Linked DNA regions of Homo sapiens: region 1 is linked to region 2. Evidence: promoter capture Hi-C in 16 types of primary human blood cells and fetal thymus (Javierre and others, 2016). All regions are on one chromosome and are shown on one strand. The core of a region is centred on a gene start or on the middle of the fragment in contact, and the rest is flanking DNA. Distances in the headings are between cores, read along the strand shown.

The links. Contacts are between HindIII fragments. The CHiCAGO score rates a contact against its expected background, and 5 or more counts as called.
Region 1: a fragment that was not itself captured here is called in contact with the fragment with the promoter of PRMT6 in region 2 in 1 of 17 cell types (total B cells); the score reaches 6.6 in total B cells.

The regions. Positions count from the first base shown.
Region 1 is chr1:104,753,361-104,759,295 of GRCh38, reverse strand. No RefSeq gene overlaps it. Among named protein-coding and RNA genes, the nearest start is that of LINC01676, 860 kb to the left of the region's middle. The HindIII fragment of the contact is 7,329 bases long and covers 1-5,935 here.
Region 2 is chr1:107,054,826-107,060,850 of GRCh38, reverse strand. It overlaps PRMT6 (protein arginine methyltransferase 6), which reads right to left and starts at 4,177. Exons shown (of 1, transcript NM_018137.3): 1 at 1,557-4,177. The coding sequence starts at 4,135. The coding sequence ends at 3,008. RefSeq lists enhancers at 3,376-3,585, 3,596-3,725, 3,736-3,875, 3,896-3,945. The HindIII fragment of the contact is 2,330 bases long and covers 4,114-6,025 here.

The DNA.
Region 1 (5,935 bases), core at 2,070-4,569, 2.3 Mb after region 2:
TGAACCCGGGAGGTGGAGGTTGCAGTGAGCTGAGATGTTGCCATTGCACTCCAGCCTGGGTGACAGAGTGAGACTCTGTAAAATAAGTAAATAAATAAAAATAATAAGCCTAAGTACTTGAATAACCATAATGAACAGAGCTGGCCACCCTAAAAAAGTGACATATTGCCATTTGCCATAAAATGAATGAAACTGGAGGGCACTATGCTAAGTGAAATAAGCCAGGTGTAAAAAGAAAAATATTTCATGATCTCTCACTTATATGTGGAATCTGAAACATAAATCAAATATACAAACATAGAGAAAAGAACAGTGGCTACCTGGGCAGGATTGGGGTGGGACTGTAGCAAATGGGGAAGTGTCGGTCAGAGGATAAAAAGTAGCAGATATGTAGGATGAACAAGATTAGAGACCTAAGGTACAATACAAGGAGTCTAAGTAATAAAATTGTAATGTATATGAGATTCCTGCTATATGAGTAGATTTTGTGGAAATCTGTTGTTTCCACACACACAAAAAAACATAAAATGGGTAACTATTTGAGATAATGCATACATTAATTTGCTTTACTGTAGTAACCCTTTTACTATCTGCATATAATTTGTAAAAAATCATGTTGAACACCTTAAATACGCACAACACTATCTACAAAAGAAAATGACAATAACTTAGAAATTTTAATAAAAAAAGAACAGATCTTTCTACTACATGGACTGCTCATATTGGGAAATTTTTATGGAACGGACATAATGATTTACAAAAGGAAAATCTTAGGAGGTAATATAATCCCCCAGGGCTACTAGCCCTGGGATTATTAGCACACCAGTTCTGAAGGCCAAGGAGAAGTAGAGTAGTAGATGGAGACAATGTTTAACATGAATCTCTTTTCTTTAGTTGAGGAATCCAGCAAGCCTAAGGTGCCCCTGCTGAGAAGGAGTCAGGGAAAAGCCATTGGCCACATTTTACTCCCTTTATTCAATTTCCTACCCAGATTCCAGACTGCAGACCTCCCCCTGCACACACACCCCCCTCCCCTCCTCCCCCCATTCCCCCCCACCCCCCCTCTTCCCCATACCCCCACGCTGTCCCCCATACCCCATCTCCCTGTCCCCCTATCCCCCCACCTCCATCCCCCATCCCGCCTGCCTCCCCGTCTCATCCCCCCACCCCCATCCCCCCACCCCCTGCCTCCCCACCCCCTCCCCCATCCCCCCTCCCCATCCCCCTCCTTCCCCATACCCCACCTCCCCCATCCCCCTCTTCCCCATCCCCCATCCCCCATCTCCCCCCTCCCCCCCCACAAGAAAACAGAAGCAGCAGAATCGCAAGGAGCCATATTCATCAACCATAATAAGTAGAGGAATGGTAAAGGGTGGAGTGTGGATATGGAGAAAAAAGAGTAAAGATTTCCCACATGTTCTGTTCCTTTTGGTCCACAGCACTGGTCTCATCTATTATCTAACTAAAGATAATTTGTCCAAACGAGGAACCACATGTCCCAAAAGCTCTTCTGCTATCATAAGATGTTGTCAATGTGTCATCATTCTTCATGTGAACTTGAAATGTTAGCCATCACAACTGATTTTTCACTAGAGAAAAAGTATTAGGGGCAGGGGACAAAACAAGTAACAGAACTATCATTGTTCCTGTGTCCATAGCAGTTTCTATAGCCTAAGCAGGTAATCATTGCTTGATAGTTTTACAAGATTCCCTATCCTCTGCCAGGCATTCAGCTGAACCTAACTCCAAACATGATGAGTGACCCAAATACACATTCGTGTAGGAAATTAATACAAGTATGATGGTCGATTATGCATTGGGTTGCTGAAGTTTTGCATTGACCAGGAATGTTGAGCAAATGAGAAAAGAGGTGTTGGTAAATCTCCTAATCTCCATCCTTTCCCCTACTTTGTTGTGGTGAGACACTTTCCCCAGGCAGTGGTGTCATAATCAGGAATTCAGCATTAGAGTCAGTTGTGTGAAGATTGAGTCTTCAGCAGTGCTAGATGCTATAACAGCTGTGCAGAGGAAAAAACCATACTAATGATTAAATAGATACCTTTTATGCTTGTGATCATTAGTATTTTGTGAACAACACTGTTAAGCACTGGGAAACTGTGGAGAAAGAGTGTAGTGCAGCTACAGATTGCATTCCCAACTAATATATATATTTTTTGATTTTTACAATTATTAATTTTCAGACAGGCTGTCGCCCAGGCTGAAGTGCAGTGGCCACGCAATTATGGCTCACTGCAGTCTGGACCTCTCAGGCTTGATCAAGCTATATTTCCACCTCAGGCTTCTGAGTAGCTGTGACAACAGGCACATATCACCACGCTTGGCTAATTTTTTTTTTTTTAGCCGGTACGGGGGTTTTTGCCAGGTTTAAGCAATCCCCACACCTCGGCCTCCCAAAGTGCTGGGATTACGGGGGTCAGACACCACGCCCTGTCTCTCAAATTTTTGATAGCTTGCTTTGCAATACAAATCTTCTGGTAGTTTTTATACAGTACAATAATATATTTCACTCTGAGAACATTCAGAGGAGTCCATCTACATAACTCTCCCTTGTAGACAGCGTAACTAATTTTCTGATTTTATTTTATCCAAGTTCTGACCAGCTGGACAACACATGAGAAAACTTCACAAGAATCAATGTAGATTCTTACTACAGACATCTGTCTTTCTCCAACAAATGAACAATCAGATATATCACCCAAAGTTCCAATCTGAAAATATAATTTATCTTCATTATGTTTTCTGGGCCAAGGTAACAAACACTCTGTCTAGATCCATCCATTAAGTAAACTGAACTATTTCTCCTTCCATGAACTGATCATTGGGAATGCTACATGAAGGCAGAGATGTGAGTTGAAAAAGAAATGGGAAAACAATGGAAGGGGTTTTCTTGAGAGTGAGTCACCTGTCTGTGCAGTTTCTTCAGGTGTTCCAAATCATTGAGCGAAGGTTCATATATAATACTTCTATATTAAAAAAATTCTCTACCTGAATTGACTGTAGATCGGAGAACAGACTGATCATAACTGGCAATTCAGGTTACTTTATCACCTAGAGTATTGTGACAGGCATAAAGTTTCAACCAAAACCAATCACAAACCAGGATCTGCTTTTTAAATGGAGAACAGCAGATGCCGTAACTTTGATTTTTCATGTTTGTACTATTATTTTCTCATTGGGAATTTCCAAAAGCCCATACAGTATTTCTGTCTACTAGAGAAACTCACAGTAGTATTCAGCATGCTGAAATTATAGAGCCCAAAGGTAGAACATTCATTGCAGCCAGGAACTAATGTAGAGCTCTGTCGTTCTTGAGGCTCAACTGGAATGTGGAAAATTTATTTTATATTATCTCAATATTAGATAAGTTGGTTAATGAGAGACCATAAAATATGATATGCATTGCCAGCAAGATATGAAGAAGCATACTAAGTATGTGTCCCTTTTCATAGTTTGCTGTTAAACCTACCTTTGACTGCATGTTTCAAATTATTTTTTTTTAATTACGGAATTTCAGTTTATTTTTTAAATTCTAGTTTTTGGCAGAAATCTCCATTTTACCATTTATTACCTGATATTATTACTCATATTTTAAACTTTGTGCCTGATAATGCCAAAAATGTAATATCTGGGATTTCCTTGAGTGTCCTTCTATTGTCATAGGTTGTGATGTTATATTTATCCTTAGAGAATTTATGCACTATTTAATTCATTCATTTTGGTGGCAGAAAGCTAGCCTTGGCAAAAAGACAATATATTTTGATCTTCAATTTATATTAATTAAAGGTGGGCTTCAGTACTTGCTAGAGATAACCAAAATTATTTCTATATATTTTTTCACACAGTGCTTAGTACACAGTGAAAAATGACCTAGTACATAATGAAAAATACCTGACTGGACATCAAAAGAAAAATATGTTGGTAAACGTAAGTAAATAGTGACTATATAACACAACTATAGTAGTAATGTTTTATGTGGTATACAACATAAATAGAATTAAACAACATAAAAACAATAACTCATAATGTGGCAGCAGAGTGTGAATGAAATTTCAAGTTTTCTAGTGCCCTTGCTTTATATGAAAAACAAAAAATATTTCTTTGTTTTAGATGTTAACAGATTAGGGTTGCATGTTGTATTCTGTAGAATAAAACTACAGAATATTTGAAGAATATTTACTTCACTGGAAACAGGATAATTCCATAAACAACTGTTTCAAAATGCAAAGGAAGAGGGTGAAAGAGAGAAAAAAGTATATAAAATAGTTTGAGAAAGTAAAAACAACTAGTGAGATAGTAGATTTAAATCCAAATTGAGAAATAGTTATATTAAGTAAAAAGTGGCTGAATGGTGCATAGTAAGATAGTAGATTTAAATCCAAATTGAGAAATAATTATATTAAATAAAAAGTGGCTTAATGTTTCAACTAATATTACTGCTAAGTGGATAAGAAAATGAAACTTGTAGCTAAGAAGTGACACCCTTCAAATGTCAAGTTGAAATTCTATGAATGAAAACAGAAATATGTGAAAAAATTAGCCAAGAAATGGTGGTGTAGCTATGCTATTACTAAATGAAGAACAATTTAAAGAAAACAGCATTGGTAGAAATAAAATATGAATATTGTATTATAATAGACGAACCTGCCACACATATATACCAGTTCTACAAATGTCAGAGCAAAAGATGATGTAAGAGGGAACAAGTCAGTTATCACAGTGGGATATTTTAATTTACCTTACAGTAACTGATAGAACATACAAAAACAAATCAGCAATGACAGAAGATTTGAATAACAGGATTACCTGACTAGATGGACATATTTACAACATTGCACCCAACACCTGGAGAATATCTAGTTTTTTCAAATGCAATTAGAGCATTTAAAAAAGGACAGTAAATTGCAGGGATTACTATATGCTATAAAAACAAAATGGATAGAAATCAATTTTTAAAGCAAATTTAGTAATCTTTATGTGTGTAGATAACAATAAAAATCTAAGTAACCTATAAGCCTTAGAAGTAATCAAAAATTTTGAACATATTTTAAAATGAAATATATAATTAATATATGATAAATCCTGTGAACTATATGTAAAAATATTTGGGGGCGATTTCTTTTTTCATTAAATGGCTATAGGAGAAAGGGAGGCTGAAAAATTGATGATAAAATCATCTATTAAAATAAAGTAATAACAAATTAAGCCCAACTTTGTTGAAGATGTGACATAATAAAACTAAAAACAGAAATTAGTAAAATAAAATCAAACAACTACAGAGAGAGCAATTAAAGCCAAAATAGTTGGTTCTTTGTAAAAACTAAGAAAGAATTGTATCAGCTCCCAATAACCTAGATCAAGACACATGAGGGATGGTACAAATAATAATTATCAGTGTTACACAAAGACTGTCAATAAAGATTCTACTTTTTAAAAACAAATTAGTCTGGGTGCGGTGGCTCACGCCTGTAATCCCAGCATTTTGAAAGCCTGCAGTGGGTGGATTGCTTGAGCCTAGAAGTTCGAGACCAGCCTGAGCAACATGTTGAGACCCTATCTCCACTAAAAACACAAAAAATTAGCCAGACATTGTGGCATGTGCCCGTAGTCCCAGCGACTCAGAAGTCTGGGGTGGGAGAATCACTTGAGTCTGGGAAGTCAAGGCTGCAGTGAGCCATGATTGTGCCAGTGAACTCCAGCTTGGGTGATGAGAGTGAGACTCTGTCTCTAAATATATAAATAAATAATGAAGTATACATTATGAAAAAAATATGATAATACATTTGAAATGTGGGTAGAACAAACTCTTAAAACTTTGTCTACCATAACTAATATGCACACAAAATATGAAGACCATGTTTACCAAAAAGCAAATTTCTAATTAAAATCCTTAACACAAAGAAAATTCCAGAATCAG
Region 2 (6,025 bases), core at 2,928-5,427:
GCCCACTTCTGTTTTTAATTGAAGCAGGCAAGATTAATATAATAAACATGTGAATTTTTGTTTGGAGTTAGGAATTAAAAGCCAAGAATTAGCTATGTAAACTTAGGCCAAGTCCTTCAATATCTGTATAACTCTTGTTCCTGGTATGTAAATTGAGTTAATTACTTGCCCTTTCTAACACCAAGACCATCCCAGTCTTTAGCCCATTATCATTTATTGTACTTACCATTTTATCTTATGAACATATCATTTGAAGGAAGAAACTGTGTTTTGTTGGTTTGTATCCTAAATGCTTATCACAATGACTGTTGCATTGTATACTCAATAAAATGTCCATTGGTCCAATGAATTAATGAAAATATTTGTAAACTTTCACAGCGCAAAATAAATGTAAGTTGTTTGAGGGAAGCAGGTTGAACTTTACCATGTTTTCCTCTCCTTTGGGCCTGGTAGTTCCTGCCTGTGGTCCAATGGCACCAAGCAGTCAGTACCAGTCCATACAGACAGATTGGACAGTGCCTGGATGTTGATACATCTTACACCTTCATCCTTCTGGAGGTGTCCTCACTCCAGAGGTCTTGAATTCCCTTTGGATCATTTGGTGTACAGTGTCATACATTGCTCCTCACGTACAACCACATACTGTTGAATACCTGTAAAAAAAATCAAAATGTTGAATATTTATTCTGTCACACATTTTGCATGCATCCAAGTGCTCCAGGTTTGACTTTTCCCTAACTACCACACTGAGGCTTTATTGAGATCTTATTACATACCAGACATTATGTAGTCACATGTATTAACTCATTCTATTCTCACATCTATGACATAGGTACTATTGTTATCTCCATTTTGCATACGAGAGGAATTTCCTCCATTTTGAAGGAAAAAAAGGTGTTTAATATTTTGCCCAAGGTCACAAAGAGTGGTGGAGCCTAGGTTCTACTATGGGCTGTCTGGCTCCAGAGTCCAATTTTGTAGCCATTATGTTATGCTAACTCTTGACTAATTGCTTCAGTCGCTGTATTTTTATAATTCATTTTTCTTCTGGGAAGGAGTAATAAAAATCCTGAAGCTTACTTTAACTATGGAATACATACCCTTTACTTCTATAGTTCCTCCAAGTTTTAACTGAGGTTCCCTTTATGTGCTTATACTGATAATGATAACTCTATAGTATTTATCAAATATATAAAAAATAGAATTTGGAAGAATATTCTCATTTATCACTTAGTAAAGGAATTGTTAAATCAAGTTTTTTTTAAAAAACAAACCAAACCACCAGAAACCTACTCAAAATCACACACTCAAACTCTAAATAAATATTTGATTTAAAACATAGAACACCTTATAAGGAGCTCTATTTTCCCTCTAGCTTAAGTCTAGCTTGCTGTGACTGTAGCATTTACATGAGATGATCACTATCTTAGCATCAAAATGGTGACGGTTACAACTGTACTGCTTGCTACTCAATTATCTTGTAAATTGATAATTTTGTACATGTATATCTCTCCATGATGGAAGATCTGTGTTATATACAACCAAAGTTTAGCAAATTAGTTTTTATACTCTAATACTTTAATATGCAATGAATAAAAGGGCAGAAAATTCAGAATTACAATAAATGTTAGGCTATTTCAGAACACCAGTTTTTCACACCTATTTTCTTAGCATACAGAAGCTCGAAAATCATACATTAAGCATAGTTTGAATTGTCCTGAAGTTATATTCTGAAGGGGCTGTAACACTTAAGAACTAATAATATTAAAAAGGCAAAAGCATTATAACTCACAGCACACAAGACTTTTTACCTCATCTATAAAACGTGAGAATGTCAATGTTTTATTGGCTACAAGGATAAGGAAGGAAACATCAGAGAAATAAATTTGATAACAAGATTCACACTTCATTACAAGTGATTTTCCTAAATTCACAACTTTCACATTTGGCTGAGTGAAAGAGAAAAACAAAACAAAACAAAACAAAACTGAAAAGGGAACTTTCACTACTTGTAAGTAGGCCAACTCACATGATCCCTCCAAATGAGAGAGTTTAAATGAGAATGAGTATACTTTTCTAGCTGGGAAAATATTTTCCTTAATTAAGTGAGTTTAAATAATTTACCCATGGTGATGAATAAGCCCTTGGGCTAGGCTCAGAAACCTCCTCTACCAGCCTGTTTCATAAGAATTACACAAATATTTTTATGGGACATACAAGAAATATTTTTTGGTTATAATAGTAGAGACAAGAATTTTTAAAAATCCATACTATTTCTTTCAGGTCTCTCTCTTAAATGCACCTTCTGAGTTTCTTAGGTATGCTGTACAATTACAAAGTCCATTTTACTTAACGGATTAATGTGTTCATCAACTTTAGCACCCTATGATGTATGTGGTCAGAGTAATGAGAACAGGGCTATTTAAACTGCTTCCTCATATCCTTCCCCTTAATTACCAGTAGTGAAGTTTACCTAGAAAACAATGAGGAAGAAGTACCATAGCCTACAGGCACCTAGGGAGGGGGAATTAATTCGGACTGAGAAAATATGGCTCTGGAGAGATACTAAAGTCGTACTGGAAATGTATGAAGTCTAAATGAACCCCTTTCTCCCCAGCTTCAGACTTAGATAAGGTGTGAGGTGTCAGGGATGTGCATGGACCCTTCAAAAACTGACATTTTCATCCGTGTTCTTCCCCCTCACTCCCCCGCGAAACAAAATATACGGAAATACAAGTGCTTGGTACTACATGCTTTTGAGGCTAAATGCCCAATAATAAGCACGCTGTATCCGTTGTTGAGGGGGATCACTTTTTAAGTAAACATCACCAGAAGAATCTCTTCAAATGGAGAATGAAGTCACTCTCCCTCCCTAGAGGCTATGAGGGAAAAGGGGGAGATATTCCCCCTACTTGCACGTGGGATCTCCCTTTCCCCTCCGACCTCGCTACGCCTCTCCCACGCAGGTCAGGCTGCTTTGGGAGGTAGCTGGGAGAAAAGGCAACGCTCAGTCCTCCATGGCAAAGTCTTTGGTCTTCTCCTCCTGGTCTCCCACTTTGTAGCGCAGCAGCACGCGCAGGCGACGGGGGTTGTCCCGGGAGGGCAGCAGCGTGATCTCTCCTGAAACGTCCGTGTCTTGCTCCACTTGCACCGGCTCGTTCAGGTAGAGGAGCGCCTGTTTCCAGTGAGTGGCCGGGTGAAAAGGCGAGGTGGACAGCACCAGGGGTTTCTCCGACTCCCCTCCAGGGAAGGTCACCTGGAACCAGATGGCAAAGCCATGCATGGGCGCCGAGCCATAGCAGCTGCAGCGGAAGCGCCCGCCCACTCCGGCCTCCAGCTCCTGCTCCAAGCCGGCGCGGGAGAGCTCTAGCTGAGCAAAGCGCTGCGGCCGGGCCAGCACGTCCTCGCCGGACAATCCCTGCACAACGATCTCCGAGTGGCCCATGAGACAGCGCGTGGCGAAGCCCTCCAGGCAGCTCATGTCCACACCATAGTGCTGCTTCACCTGGCTCCAGAAGCCCAGGCGCCATTCCAGCATCTGGTCGCTGATGGGGGCTATGAAGAGCTCGGCGGAGGCCGGCAGGAGAAGACCGCCCTCCTTCAGCCACTTGGTTCGCGCGTGGAGGACGGAGCTCAGCATGGACTCGTGCAGGAGTCCGTAGCCCATCCACTCGCTCACGATGGCATCCACCTGTTCCGGCAACTCTACAGTCTCCACTGGTCCCGGCAGGACGTGCACCCGGTCCTCCAGCCCGTTGAACCGCACCACCTCCCGGGCCTGTTGCCAGATGGCGCTGGCCTCTACCGCGTACACGCGCCGGGCCCCGGCCTGGGCACAGAAGATGCTCAGAATGCCGGTGCCCGCGCCCACGTCCAGTACCGTCTTGCCTCGCAGTGCTGCCCAGTTCCGAAGGATACCCAGGCGGTAGGCATCGGTGCGGACGCGGTCCGCGATCATCTCCTCGTGGACCGAAACGTCCGAGTAGCACTCGTAGTACAGCTGGTCCCGTTCCCGCTTAGTCCTCCGGGGTCGCTCCAGGGCCGCCTCCCGCTCCGCGCCATCTTCCTCTTCAGTTCCCTCCCCTCCTTCGCCGCCGCCCCCCGACTCAAGCTTTCTTTTCTTGGGCTGCGACATCTTGGCCGCTCTGCCCGGCTCCCGGCGGGCGTAGCGCGGCACGGCGCGGGCTCCAGGAAACGGGGGCTTCTGGGACTTGTAGTGCGCGCTCGTCCTTCCTACTTCCTGCGGGGTCGCCCGGCCGGCGGCGCGGAAGGTCTCCTGTGCCTGCTCACGGGAGCTGTTTTGTATTGCTCTTCTGGTGTCCTGGCATCCCTTTTCCCACCCACGACGCCCACATTCTGAGATCCTTTCATTCCCCCTCCCACCCTTAGCTCCTCAGTTTTTTGCTTTCACTCCCTTCCTGAAGTAGGCACGCACACTTAAGACTAATAATCCACCTTTGTTTCTTCTGCTGAACTCACCTCTGTTTTTTTTGTTTGTTTTTCTGTTTTTTGTTTTTTTTGAGAGGGAGTTTCGCTCTTGTTTCCCAGGCTGGAGTGCAATGGCGCGATCTCCGCTCACCGCAACCTCCGCCTCCTGGGTTCAAGCGATTCTCCTGCCTCAGCCTCCCGAGTTGCTGGGATTACGGGCGCATGCCACCAGGGCCGGCTAATTTTGTATTTTTGGTAGACGGGGTTTCTCCCTGTTGGTCAGGCTGGTCTCAAACTCGCGACCTCAGGTGATCCGCCCACCTCGGCCTCCCAAAGTGCTGGGATTACAAGCGTGAGCCACCGCGCCCGGCCTAACTCACCTCTGGTTTTATTCCACCGAATTAACATGGCAGCACCATCCACCCACTACCGCCTTAACTGGACAATTGTAGCTCTTAAAGTGCTCCAGCTGTGGCAATTTAGAAACTGCACTACGCATTTCTTTTTTCTGTTTTCAGTGCAGTTAGAGTGCAAATGTAACAAAATTAAAACCTAACAATGCAAAATCTTGGTTCTGATTCCAGTATGACCACTAATTAGTTGAGTGATTTAGGGCAAATAATAGAACTTCTCTGGCCTTTAGTTGCCCATTCACCCACCAGCGAATCTTCATTGCAGTTGGGGAAGAACTAGGTTTCTGGTTCTACTTAGAAGAATAGTTACTTGGCTTTCGGCTCTGCTCTGATAATTCTGTGGCTCTCTTAAGAGTTAAATCCTGAAAAGTGCAGACTCAAGAGCCATGTGATACAAGCAAACTCGTTGCTAGGTGTATTCTATATATATATGCGTTTTTTTCTCTCAGAAATAACGGAATCAATTTCTTTTAATCACTTTCTCAATGCAATTCATTTTTTCCTGTGTTTTCTTGTCCGGGCAATATTGACACTCTCCTCTTTCTCTTATATTTTTCTTGTAGTCAACCATCAGCTGTTACTCTCTTTTTGTTGTCCATAATGGAAATAAAATATGTTTTTAAATATGTGTGGCATCTGTATGGGTGTCCGTGTTATTAACAAGGTGGGCATAATGCCATTTTCTGCCAGCTTGAAAAAAAAGTCACTCAGAGTAAAATGGATTTTTATTTTCTTGTGGTCTTGAATTATGTCCTTGTAACCAATAGGCCTGTATTCCTTGTCTGGGATCAAAGTTCTTTCATCCTATTTTCTCTATTAATCTTTCATTAGCAGAATAGGTTTATTGATATGGCATCCTTAGCTGTACTCTACTTCTAACTCAAGACTCTCCATCCTGGCTGCTTATTAGAATTCTCTAAGGAGCTTTTTAAAAAATACCGATGCCTGGGTCTACCTCAGACCAATTAAATCGGAATCACTCCAGTGGAACCTGGGCTTCTAGTTTTTAAAAGCTCCCCAGGGAATTCTAATGGGCAGCCAGGGTGAGAACAACTGTTTCTCACTAAAATGATCTTAGTTAAATCTTGCTTCGTTATTTTAATTGGGTAAATTGTATTTTTTTCAGTGGCCTGGGCTCAACCATTTAAGGCTAAAAACCTTGAAGTATTTCTTCTCTTTTTCTG